Regions from separate parts of the Homo sapiens genome. Here all the other regions are linked to region 1. Evidence: promoter capture Hi-C in 16 types of primary human blood cells and fetal thymus (Javierre and others, 2016). All regions are on one chromosome and are shown on one strand. Each heading gives the region's core, a stretch centred on a gene start or on the middle of the fragment in contact. The rest is flanking DNA. Distances are from core to core; before and after follow the strand shown.

Region 1 (4,146 bases), core at 1,459-3,958:
TGCTCCCTCTGCTTTTGGGTCCTCCATCCATCCTCTCTGCCTAGATAAATCTCTCATCTTTCAATACCCTGCTAAGATGTCACCTCCTCCAAGAAGCTTTTACTGAGTTGAGACACCCCCAGCTATCTGATCTGGCAATGTTTGTATGCACCTCCCTGCACTGTAGTACCTTAACTTGGAGTCTGTGGCCCCTGGGATGACCTTAAGGTTAGGGACATATAAGTTTGTCTCTTAGCACCTTGCATAATGCTTGGCACATAATGGAAACCCAATGAGTATATAATGTAGAAACTATTTCTCCACCCTGGAATATTCTCTCCTTCTCCTCCACCCATCTAAACAGGCCCACCTCTAAGGGAGCAGCTTAAATTCCACCTCATTCTTGAAGGTTTCTCCAGCCTGAATTTGTTGCTTCCTCATTTGTAGGATGACAGAACTCAGAAGAGCTTTAGCCATGATGAGCCGACACAAGTCAGTAGTAAAAGAAGGAATATAAAATGCCTCCTTCAGGAATGTACAGGCTGGACATCATGACTCTACAAGTGAAAAAGAGTTAGTGGCTTTAGATTTCTGCAATTTTGGTATAAATCACTGGCCTGGACCTGTATTTACAGAGATGCAATACTCACATCATGTGGGGTTTGTACAAATTGCAGACATCGAGGAACAGAGAATGTTCCAAGGGCAGGCTGTAGGGAAGAGGCTACGATGTGGGAGGTATTATCCTGAAAAAAGCAATGCACAGGGAGCCCTCTTCAAGCACTTAAAGGCTTGCCAAGTAGAAGAATGTGCTTGTTCTGTGTAATTCCAGAACACACAAGCAGAACCAATGGGTGCAAATTATGTGGAGGCTGTTTTTCCTATATGACCCCCATATTTTAACCACAAGGACCACAAACATTGATAGGGTTTCTTCAAGAGGTTGTGTGGTCCCTGACCCTGGAGATGTTAAGGCAGAGCCTAATTAACCAATTTCTCAGGGATGCCATAGCACAGATTTCTCCAATTGGAGGGAAACTATGATTCCATGTCTATGAGATGGAGTTTCACTCTGTCGCCCAGGCTGGAGTACAGTGGTGCCATCTTGGCCCACTGCAACCTCTGCCTCCCAGGTTCCAGTGATTCCCCTGCCTCAGCCTCCTAAGTAGCTGGGCCTACAGGTGCATGCCACCATGCCTGGCTAATTTTTCTATTTTTAGTAGACACGAGGTTTCACCATGTTGGCCAGGCTGGTTTGAACTCCTGACCTCAAGGGATCTGCCTGCCTTAGCCTCCCAAAGTGTTGGGATACAGGCATGAGCCACCATGCCTGGCCTAAAGTCCTTTCAATTCTAAGATTTTTTTTTTGCCCAAGGAGCTTATCTGCCACTATTGTTTCCAACATGTCCTTGGCCCACAGCTTAGAGAGTCTGGTCTTCTTAATTATCTTTTCAAGTGTTTATGACTTAGTTCCTCAGCTAGACTGTGAAACTACTTAACAACAAGGACTGTGTATTGAATGTCTGTGTCACACAGCAGTGTAAATGCTGGGTAAACACTCATTGGTTGCCTGACATAGTAACTCATGCTTTAAGCCTTCCCATAGAAGGGTGAGAGATTGGGAGAGTGGAAGAAGAATGATCACTGGCCTTAGAAAGCAGAAATCTGGTCCCATTTCTGCCCATCTTTTCTCATTTCTCATCCTGCAGGCATCTGAGTCTTAGACCCACCTATCCCACTTCCTCAAGAAGCCCTTGGTGGAACTTTGCAAATGACCAAAGAGGGAGAATTATAATAAGGTTGTTAGTTTCCAGAGAACATTACACCTAAGCTTCTCCACGCTTGTAATGGAGGGATGGATGGATGGATGGATGGATGGATGGATGAATGGATGGATGAAAGGGTGGACAGAAGGGTGGATGGATGGGCACATGGGTGGATGGATGGTTGGATGGATGATGGATGGATGGAAGAATGGACAGATGGGTAGATAGATGGACAGATGGGTGGCCGGGTGGATGGATGGATGGATGGACTGAGTCAAGTAATGTCAATTAGAGACCTGAGTGTTCTTTCCTCTGTGCTCTACTCACACTATCATATTTCCTAGCAGTCCATGGCACATGATGTCTGCTCAGTCTCAGGGTGAATCTGAGGTCAATATCTTTGCAGTTGGGTTTCCCTAGATGTTCTGTCCCATCAAGCTGGTACCAACTAATTAAACCCACTGAAAAGCAGAGACTCCCTTCTCGTCTTTCCAAACAGAGTCACACTCACAGTGCTATCAGCCCCTTCTCTTATTCTGGCTGTCTGGCCACAGCCTGGATTCCGGCATCAGAATTTGTTCTGTCCTTGGGCTTGCCAGACATACTTTCTCTTGTATTCACCACCTCTTCAAGCCTAGGATGGAGCCCCACGGGGCACCAAAGATGTCTGACCCCAGCACTGTTTATCTGGCTGCAAACCCACTAATAACATAGTCAACGACAGTCAGTACAGAGCAGGGGCCCCATACCTTATTTCTGCCAAGGCTTTATGGATGACTCTCTCCCCCTTCAACAAATGCTCCTTAATGTTCCCACCATCTTATTATTCATGCTGTACCAAAGACATTGTGAAATGCCCAGGCTCTTCTTCCTTCATGTCCTGCAGCCAATTATAGAGATTGGTGCAGGCCTGACCCACCTGTACCAGACGGTATAAACACAGCGCAATGCCCTGGAGAAATCAGTTGGAGTCTCCAGGGATCAGGGTTCCAGGAACTCAGGATCTGCAGGTCAGTGATGGACAGGCAATATTCTCTCTCTCTTTTCTTTCTTTTCTACTCTCTCCTGTCAATATCTCTGGTATGCCCTCTATCCCTTCACTCCTCCTGGCAAGCTGTCTAGGTAACAAGGTAGTCCCCTCATATGACATGATGGGACATCAAAAACATTTAGGAGCACATAAAGAGATTTGAGGAGAAGGAATAGGTTAAGCCAAATCAAGATTTCTGAACTACTTAGAACAACTGACTTTAGAAAGTAATCTCAAAAGAAACCATCTGGGCCAATGGTATTCAAACCGTGTTTGGTGGAAGCTTAAGAGATTTTTTGTTTTCGTTTTTTTTTTTTTTGTGCTCCTTGGTAGCTCCTCAGTGTCTTCTTTGTAGGCAAGAGAAATACTAGCAGGGTTCCAAAGTCTCCATTGCTTCCTGTGTCAGCAAAGCAGCTGCCCTTTATCCTTTTTACAATCATTAGAATTCTGCATAAAATTTTATTGTGAAACTTAAAACAGTTTTGAAAGATACCTTACTCAATCTTTCCATCCAATGTTGATAAGTTGAAGGCCCAGGGATAAAAGGTGGCAAAATAAATTGGTAGCAGAGCTAGGTCTAGGACTCAGCCTTTCTATTCAAAGTCTGCTCTGTGTGTTTCTATGTCCTGGCCACAAGGACCAGGGTAGTTCAATTAGGGTGGTTGGAGAGAGCTTCAAGTGAGCTGTAAGCCATGCTTCATGACTTCAAGATCTTATAAACTTTTATAAGGGAAACAAATATCTTTATGTACAACAATAAATAATACAGTAAAATTTAATAGGAGTTCAGAGTAGAGTTACAATAGTAAGGGAAAGATTCATTAAACTCTGAGTCATGGAATTATAAATAGTTTGGCCTAGAAAGAACCTTCATAACCACATAATCTAATCCCATGAATGTATAGTGCTGAAACTGAGGGTTGGAGGTTAAAAGACATAACCCTGTATGTCTAAGCTGTAACTCTACACTGGTAATTAATTTGATAGAACTAGATACTGAACCCATCTATACTGATACTATCTCCAGTGATCTTAATATCAAAAGATCTGAATGGATGACAATGAGAAGGGATGACTTTTGAGGCAGGGAGAACAATGGGACACCTGTGAGTACGTCCACTGAGAAGATAAGAAAGGAATTATGTCGCCAGGAGGTGTGGTTTAGTGTCCATGGAGAAGTGAGATGCTATCACACAAGAAAATCAGTGCCAGACGGTGACAAAACAGTCAGTCACTGTAGATTCTAGAGCTGGGCAGGGATGTGGTGAAAAAAATCTTTAGAACGTGGGTCCACATTCCTCACATAGGTTGGAATGAATGAAAGGCAGAAAAACCGGGAATACAAGTACAGTAGTAATGGCAATTAAAAAC
Region 2 (4,374 bases), core at 1,664-4,163, 300 kb before region 1:
ACTTGTTTGATGTTTGTCTCTCCCATCTACAGCATAAGCCCTGGGAGGGCAGGAATGTCTGTCTTGTTAAGCGCCATTATCTCTAGCATCAGAAGTGACTGAGATGTTATAGGTACTAAATAAATATTTGTTGAATAAGTGAATTAGGTTCATTTAATCAAGGAAATAGAGGTGAGTAAACACCCAAGATAAAATAAAGGGTGAAAGCTAACTTTGTAAAAATTAATTTTCAAATAAATACTTAGCAACTCAAATGGGGAAAAAATTAATTAATGCTAAGAAAGGACAAATAACACGACAAAGATGGTAAGAATCTACAAAGGATAAAAATGAAGTGGACATGTTCTGTCTACCTTAACAGTAAATGCTAAGAGAATGACCCAAGAGCAGAGGGTATCACTCTGCTACGGAGGATTGATTGTAACTGGCTCTCCTGCCTTAGCAAGAAATGCCAGAACCATGGTCATTCAAGTTCTTGACCAAAAACTGCCTTCATGAGAATCAACTTCCCCAAGAAAAAAAAAGCAGAAACAGGCAAAGCTTCCAGCATGGTAGGTAATACTGACCCTTCTTCCCTCCTTCCTTTGGAGATTCACACAGTAATAATGCATAAAGCTTTGCCAATGGACTAAGCACTGCCCAGGGGTTTTTGTCATGCCTGGACTGAAATGCTCTTTTTGCGTTATCATAGAATCCCAGTGCAGTCTGAGTAGACTCTAAGCAAAAGGGACATTTTTCAAAAAGGCTTTAAATTGCTAGTACAAAGAAGGCAACAAAACTTGCGTAACTGTGGACAGATAAACTCACTTGGTGTTTTGGCTCTTCAGTTTTCCCTTGGCTGCAAGGTACTCCTGAAGCTTTCTCTGCCGCTCTTCTGCAACACAGGCAAGCAAACAAACGACATAACTTTAGTTCAAGATTTTAACCAGTTCATTAATATTCTAAAAGATGACACTTTTCTCTAGTGATTTTGCCTTTGCAACATAATGTTATAAAATCCCTAGTCCTATAAATGTGCCTTCAAGCTAACATCAACATCAACAATATCATTTATATGCCAGGCCTACACTAAGTTCTTTAAACTTACTACTTTTTTTTTTTTTTTTGAGACAGGGTCTTCCTCTGTCACTGAGGTTGGAGGGCAGTGGCACAACCACGGCTCACTGTTGACTTGATCTCCCAGGTTCTAGCAATCCTCACACCTCAGTCTCCTGAGTAGCTGGGAATACAGGCGTGTACCACCATGCTGGATAATTTTAAAAAAATTTTTTGTAGAGACAGGATCTCACTATGTTGCCAGGGGTGGTCTCAAATTCCTGAGCTCAAGTGACCCTCCTGCTTTGGCCTCCCAAAGTGCTAGGATTACAGGCGTAAGTCAAAGCACTCGGCCTAAATTTACATTATTGCTTTCAATCCACAAAACAATCCAATGAGTTTTTGCAATCTGAAATTCAGAGAGAGTAAATGTCATGCCCAAAGTTACCCAGCTAATATGTGGCAATTCCAGGACTTGAAAACAGGCTTTTCTAACCCTGGAGCTCACAGCCACTGTTCTCAGCTACAACAGTCTGTTTTGAAGAATTTCTGTTACTGGCCCACCTGAGCTGGTGAGCCAGGCCTGGTCTTACGTCTTTTGTTTTTTTACAGGGATGATGATTTTTACCCACAAACCCTTATATGGCTTCCTTTGTTGGTACTAAGGATAAAATACGCCCGGTCTGCTCACGGCAGACACCTATACTATGGTGACTTTCTACGCAAGCCATTTGTGAGGGGATGACAAGTCAATAATTTCTGCCTTCAAGAACTTTCAAACTAGTAGTGGAGATAAAATCAACACAGCAACAATTACAGTATAAGGTAAAATCTAAGGGCCATAAGAGACGAAAAGAAGTATGGGAGTTCAGAGGTAGGGCATAAATGAGGGGAGTAGGTGGCTAGAAAAGGTTAAAAGTAAATAATGATGTGAAGGAAGACAAAAAGACGACAGGGGTGCCAAACGACTCTTAACCTCATCTGAACGGAGTTGCCCTGTTTTGCTCTCTGATGCTCATGTATCTATCCTTAGAGACAGCTTGGCGGGCAATGTAGAGCGTAGGGGCTGACATAGGGGGTTGGAGTCCCACCTCCGTGACTTCTAGCAAATTAGCAAACTTTGCTGCTGCTAAGCCTATAAGGCGGACAGAAATGCCATCTTTAAAGCTTGTTATGTAAAGTGCCTAGGACCTCGTAGGCATCAACAGGAATAATGGATGAAACAAAACAACGGTGCGTATCTTGGAGAAAGTGGCATCTGAGCAGGAGTATTTTGAAAGGTAGGAAAGGGCTCCAAGCACATCTAAGAGATTAGGGAACGCAGAAGCCTTAGCCCTGGGTGCAGATTTAACCAATCAACTTCTAACCACCGCAGGCTGAGAGGTGTGGAGTGAGAGCCCCGCCAGAGGCAGGAGACCCGGGCTTCGGCCAGACCCCGCCTCCTGGCACAGAGGACCACGCCCGGCTCTGCCTGGAGCCAAATGTGGATCAAAACAGCGCGCAGCTTCCCACTGCTGGTGAAAACCCGAGCAAGGGGCCTCAGTTTCTTTATCCGGAACGTGGTGACAATGACATCTCTTTGCAAGGCTGCTGCAGGGCTTTCTGGAAATACGCCCGTGAGGTATCTGGGCCTGCGCACAGCCTCCCCCGCCCAGGACCCAGACGTCTACCTGGGGGTCCCGTCTGCGCTCCCGGGATGGAAAACGCCCAGGGGAAACTTAGGCAGGCGAGCGGACGGGCACCTCCCGCGGGACGAACTCACTCGGTGGCCTCCTACTTCCCCGGCCGTGTTCCAACGCCTGAGAATAACGGGAACAGCGGTCGTACTCACCGACAGCGGCAGCAGCGGTAGGCCCGGGCCCCACCATGACTCTTCAGTGACAGTTTTTCTTCAAACGCCGCGCCTGTAGCCAGGACCGGCGTGCCGCGCGTCCACGCGTCCTCATTGGCTCCTGCGGGTTTGAAACTCGCTAGTCGTCAGCACGGGAGGGCGGGACAACAGGCAATAGGCTCTTTGCGGTTGGCTCTGGCCTTGAGAACCCGACCTTGGGGCCCTTTGATTGGAAGAACGTGCAGCGCACCTCGGCATTGAGGGCGGCTTCCTCGGGGCGCGGCGCCGCCCGCCTCTGAGTGCGCCTGTGAGTGCGCCTCCGAGTGGGCGTGGGACCCTCCGTGGGGGCCTCAGCCGGGCTGGTGGTTGGGGGGCGGTTACGCTGAATCCAGCTGGGGTTGGCGCGCCGGGAGTCCCTGGGCGGAGAGACAGGGCGGTCCTCCCAGGATGCTGGGGCCGCTACCTGATTCTGTCCTTTCAAAGTCTCAGACTCACAGGAGCTGTGAAAAAATAATATTATAAAGAGGACATATGGGTCTTATGCATCTAAAGGCTCCTAGTTCTTAGTACTGCAGGGTGGCTCGTTTAATTGTGGTAAAATATGCATAACATCACATATACCATTTTAACCATTTTAAAGTGTTAAATTTTTCAAAAATGTGCAGTTTAGTGGTATTAAGTACCCTCACATTGTGGCACAGCCACCACTACTGTCCTTTCCAGAACTTTTTCATCTTCCCAAATGAAACCCTGTACCCGTCACTAACTCCGCACTCCTCCCTCCCCCAGCCCCAGGCAATCACCATTCTAGTTTCTGTCTCTATGGATTTGACAACTGTAGGTGCCATATAAGTAGAATCATGCAGTATTTGTTCTGTGACTGGCTTGTTTCACTTAGCATAAAGTATTCAAGGTTCATCCATGTGTAGCATGTGTCAGAATTTCCTTTCCTTTTAAGGGGGAATAGCATTTCGTTGTGTGGAGATGCCACATTTTGCTTCTTGGTCCATCCCTCTCCGGACACTTGAGTTGCTTCCACTTTTTGGCTATTGTGAATAATAATATGAACATGAATGCACAAATAACTCTTTGAGACTCTCCTTTTCATTCTTTTGGGTATATACCACGAAGTGGTATTGTTGGATCAAACGGCAATTCTATTTTTAATTTTTTGAGAAACTGCCTTACTCCTCTCACGGTGATCTCTTGTTCAAGGTATATTTTCGATTTCACCTGATCAGCTGACTATAAGGCCATAAGGCTAACGGAGAAACGCAGGCCTAGTTTCTCCTAGTTACTAGGAGATCGCAGGCCTCGTTGTCCTGAATCCCTAGACACACTTCATTCCCCTTGTTTTAATCCTAAATTTTTTTTCTTTTGAAGTTTGTCCTGTTTCATCTATTCTCCAGTTTCTTAAAGAGGTCTGGAAAATGCTTTTGGCTCCTTGTGTATGAAGGTTCCTCTTCCATGGATGCTGGAGAAGTCGTGTGTGGAGGGGCAGTCATATC
Region 3 (4,235 bases), core at 1,261-3,760, 320 kb before region 1:
ACCACAACTGGCTAATTTTTCTTTTCTGTTTTTTTTTTTTTTTTTTTTTTTTTTTAAAGACAAGACAGGGTTTCACCACGTTGGTCAGGCTGGTCTCAAACTCCTGACCTCAGGTGATCCACCTGCCTTGGCCTCCCAAAGTGCCGGGATTACAGGCGTGAGCTACCGTATGCAGCCTAAATCTACTATTAAAGGAAAAAGATTTGTCACCTTTTAAGATAACAAGAAGAATCCAATTTATTTTCTAAAGATAGCTTGTTTTTTCTTTCCATTCATATAACAAGTATCGTAAGCAATTATAATGTCACTCGTGTTTGGCACAATATATGTCTCATAGAAGAGTCTTCTAAAGGTTATGACCACTGACAGTGATGGTCATCCAATTGAAGAGATTCCTGAGATAGCTATTTTTAAAGCGTAACACAAATTTAGATGAGTATGTTGGTGGGTTTATTATGATTAAACATGTAACTTAAGGCATTTCTCCTTTCTGCCTCAGTCTCTTCCAGCAAAGAGCTGTTTGTCTTCTGCCATCTAGGATTCCAAGGAAGTGGGACACTCCAGTCTAGGCTGTTTTGGTGGAAACAACCTTTGTTCAGTATTGAGTAGTGCATTTACTTGTAATAATACAAATAAGTCAGCTGATGACAATGGCTGAAAGGGCCAGGTCATGGAAACCAAGAAGTGAGAAGCATTTCAGGGGATGATTCTTTTCTTCTTTTTCCTATATGTCCTGGATGATTTTTACTGGTACAGCTAGAGAAGATGAATTTAAATTCAAAAATAATAGTACCTTCTGTGGTTCTGTTTGAGTCTTGCAAGATATTAAGAACAACTTTCCGCAACTCTTGTATTGGCTGGAAGGAAGGAAGAAAACATACAAAATCTTAAAAACATTCATGCAAAAAATTTGCTAAGGAACTTTAACTTCAAATACATGTTTTATAATAAAAGTTTCCTTTTAAAATCTCGTCTAACTATAAATCTTTTGTCTAGCTTGACAGTTTTATAGCTTCATGAGAAAAGTAAAGGAACAGAGAAAATTCTGATTAAGTGTTGGCACACTCGACTTAATGAACAGATGTATTTAAAGTTGTCCATAATGTAATTTGTCTACATCAAATTCTATTTTCCTATTGATTTGTATAATACTGTCAAATATGTATTCCTACATAAAAATTCTGGCCCAATGATGTAAAGCTAGCCACACAGAAAATGCATTTTATATATAGATATAGATATATTTTCTTGAGACAGAGTCTTACTCTGTCCCAGGCTGGAGTGCAGTGGCGCGATCTCGGCTCATTGCAAGCTCTGCCTCCTGGGTTCATGCCATTCTCCTGCCTCAGCCTCCCAAGTAGCTGGGACTACAGGCGCCCACCACCACGCCCAGCTAATTTTTTGTATTTTTAGTAGAGATGGGGTTTTACCGTGTTAGCCAGGATGGTCTCGATCTCCTGACATCGTGATCCACCCGCCTCGGCCTCCCAAACTGCTGGGATTACACGAGTGAGCCACTGTACCTGGCCCCAAACACAATGTTTTTTGAGATGGAGTCTCTGTCACCCAAGCTGGAGTGCAATGGTGCGGTATCGGCTCACCACAAACTCCACTTCCAGGGTTCAAGTGATTCTCCTGCCTCAGCCTCCCGAAGAGCTGGGATTACAGGCATGCGCCACCCCATCTGGCTAATTTTTCTATTTTTAGTAGAGACGGGGTTTCGCTACGTTGGCCAGGCTGGTCTCAAACTCCTGATCTCAAGTGATCCGCCTGCCTCAGCCTCCCAAAGTGCTGAGATTACAGGGGTAAGCCACTGTGCCTGGCCCAGATACAATCTTTGTAGGCATTTTGAGTAATTTTCTCCAGCTTTTCCTGTCTTTCTTCTTTTATTTGTTAACATACTTAGAAAAAAAAACCTTCATGGAAAAGTAATTTTCTGATAAAATTATCTGAGATAGGCTTTATTTTTCAAGTATGTAAACCATGCCATGAAGCAGAAGCTGCACTTTCCCACAAGAAAATTATAGTTGGAGGTTTGTCTTCCTTACCTGGAACTCTGTATCAAATAGATATAAACTGACAATAAAGCATAAAAGCAAAGCTTTCCGTACATTTTTTCAAAATCCAAAATAGAATTATGATTTCAGCTAAATGAATGGGAATAAATGTATAGAATATATTACAAAGAGTGAATTCTATACAACATTCATCAAGCATATTTTATATTTGTATAGCCTTCTGGTTAATGATGGTGGATTAAATATACGTTTATTTCTAATCTCTCTTGAAAATCGACTGAAAGGATAATAAAGGGATTAAGAAGAGGCAATAACCACAAAACATAGGAGAGAAGAAATGACAATAAGGTTTTGGAAGCTGCAGTGCAGAAGGAAGAGAGGTAAACAATTTGATCTACTTGAGAGAGTTGAATCCCAAGCTGGCAGTGTGGCTAAGAAACAACCTGACAGAAAGGCTAAGGAATGGGTGGTAGGGCCCAAATTAGGAGGACTCTTTAGCATCTGTTCAAAAAGCAGTCAGACCTCCAAATCCATCCTGCACCCCTAAACTCTATGCAGCCTAGTAACTGTGTCTGACTCCCTTCATCCTAACAGAAAACTGGGAATGTATTCTGCAAGTCTCTGAGGGATATCATGCAAGATTAGGATAGGGTGCTTTCTGAGAAAAGGAGATAAGCAAAAGTTTCTATGTTGAGGGTTGAGACTCCCTGCTCTCTTCTCTCCCACAGCACTGGCAGCCTGGTGTCTAGCTCCCAGGAAGGAGATTGGAACAGATTTCTCCAGATAACTTGACCAGCTTAAGAGGAAAGACCTAAAGATACTGATATTGAGGGTTTTCTAACTAGTCAACTCAGCCAGATCACCCTGTGTTGAAGCCCCATCCATGTGTCTCGGGCTTTAAATAAGCTTTTTCAGACCCACCTTTTATATGTGCAAACAGCCCAGTTTCACCAGCATCTGTGTAAAGCCTTTAAAGAATAATAGAGAACAAAACAAAAAGAACAAACAAACAATAACAAGAGAGAAAGAAATGAAAAACATTGGAGAAGAAATAGACAATGTAGGAAGAAGAAAACTAATATGGGTTCTAAAAACAAGGGATCCACCCAACTTAAGAAGGATGTAAAGGGAATCTAAAGGTGATGGTAAAGAGATCCCAGAAAGACAGCTGGTGAAGACGGCAGTAAAAAGTAACTTGTTCAGTCTGGAATAAGCCAGAAGGGTCTAGGAGAAAGCTCTTTATCTAAGAAAAAGGAATCAATAGAATATCTGATGTTTTCAAAGTATTGAGGAACTTAGACAATTAGCGAAGAGTTTGTGAATTAATTATATAATAAATACTCAGAAAACTAAGCAAAGGCAAAACAAGACAATAACTCCAGGAAAAGTAGAAAGTTGTGCTTGAAAGGCAAAGTAATCATAGTATATATTGCATGGCTCAACATATTCATGTATTTTTTTTTTTTTTTGAGACAGTCTTGCACTGTTGCCCAGGCTGGAGTGCAGTGGCCCGATCTCGGCTCACTGCAAGCTCTGCCTCCCAGGTTCATGCCATTCTCCTGCCTCAGCCTCCCGAGTAGCTGGGACTACAGGTGCCCGCCACCACGCCCGGCTAACTTTTTTGTATTTTTTAGTAGAGATGGGGTTTCACCATGTTAGCCAAAATGGTCTCGATCTCCTGACCTTGTGATCCACCTGCCTCGGCCTCCCCAAGTGCTGGGATTACAGGCGTGAAACACCGTGCCCAGCCCATATATTTCTTATATATTCATAACAATGTGAATGCTAAATAGTGACCAGAATTTCCATGACTCTAATGAAAGTATAAGGAATGGCAAAGGTCTATAAGGATGGTAAATAGGGGTGTGTATTTGTGTGTGCTGGGGATCTGTGTATGTATGTGTGAAAGAGGGCTAAATCTTCACTCTGCATAGCTGGAAGTCCATAAATCATATCTAAAACTGAAAAATCAAGAAACAGAAACACGTTTTCTGAAACTATAGAGGTTAATATAAAAATAAATCAGTTTGCTCTAGGAAGGGGAAAATGGGAGGGAAGGAAGGCAGAGGTCTTACTGAACGAAACTTATCAAACTACTTGACTGCTTAAACTATGTGCATGTACAATTCTGATTTTGAACCATTATGGAAAAAGGTATCACACAGAATACAGAACATGACATGGAAAATGACATTTTAAGGAAAAGCATTATAAAAC

What was found. Contacts are between HindIII fragments. The CHiCAGO score rates a contact against its expected background, and 5 or more counts as called.
Region 2: a contact is called between the fragment with the promoter of CKAP2L here and the fragment with the promoter of IL1F10 in region 1, in 1 of 17 cell types (M1 macrophages). The highest score is 6.1, in M1 macrophages.
Region 3: a fragment that was not itself captured here is called in contact with the fragment with the promoter of IL1F10 in region 1 in 4 of 17 cell types (M1 macrophages, M2 macrophages, M0 macrophages and 1 more); the score reaches 9.5 in M1 macrophages.

What each region holds. Positions count from the first base shown.
Region 1 is chr2:113,065,262-113,069,407 of GRCh38, forward strand. IL1F10 (interleukin 1 family member 10) reads left to right here and starts at 2,709. Exons shown (of 5, transcript NM_173161.3): 1 at 2,709-2,755. The HindIII fragment of the contact is 1,248 bases long and covers 1,809-3,056 here.
Region 2 is chr2:112,761,696-112,766,069 of GRCh38, forward strand. CKAP2L (cytoskeleton associated protein 2 like) reads right to left here and starts at 2,914. Exons shown (of 9, transcript NM_152515.5): 1 at 2,867-2,914; 2 at 808-874. The coding sequence starts at 2,903. RefSeq lists an enhancer at 2,544-2,683 and a silencer at 3,134-3,293. The HindIII fragment of the contact is 4,243 bases long and covers 2,201-4,374 here.
Region 3 is chr2:112,741,913-112,746,147 of GRCh38, forward strand. It overlaps CKAP2L (cytoskeleton associated protein 2 like), which reads right to left. Exons shown (of 9, transcript NM_152515.5): 7 at 794-857. It also overlaps a transcript of NT5DC4 not described here. Among named protein-coding and RNA genes, the nearest start is that of CKAP2L, 21 kb to the right of the region's middle. The HindIII fragment of the contact is 823 bases long and covers 2,100-2,922 here.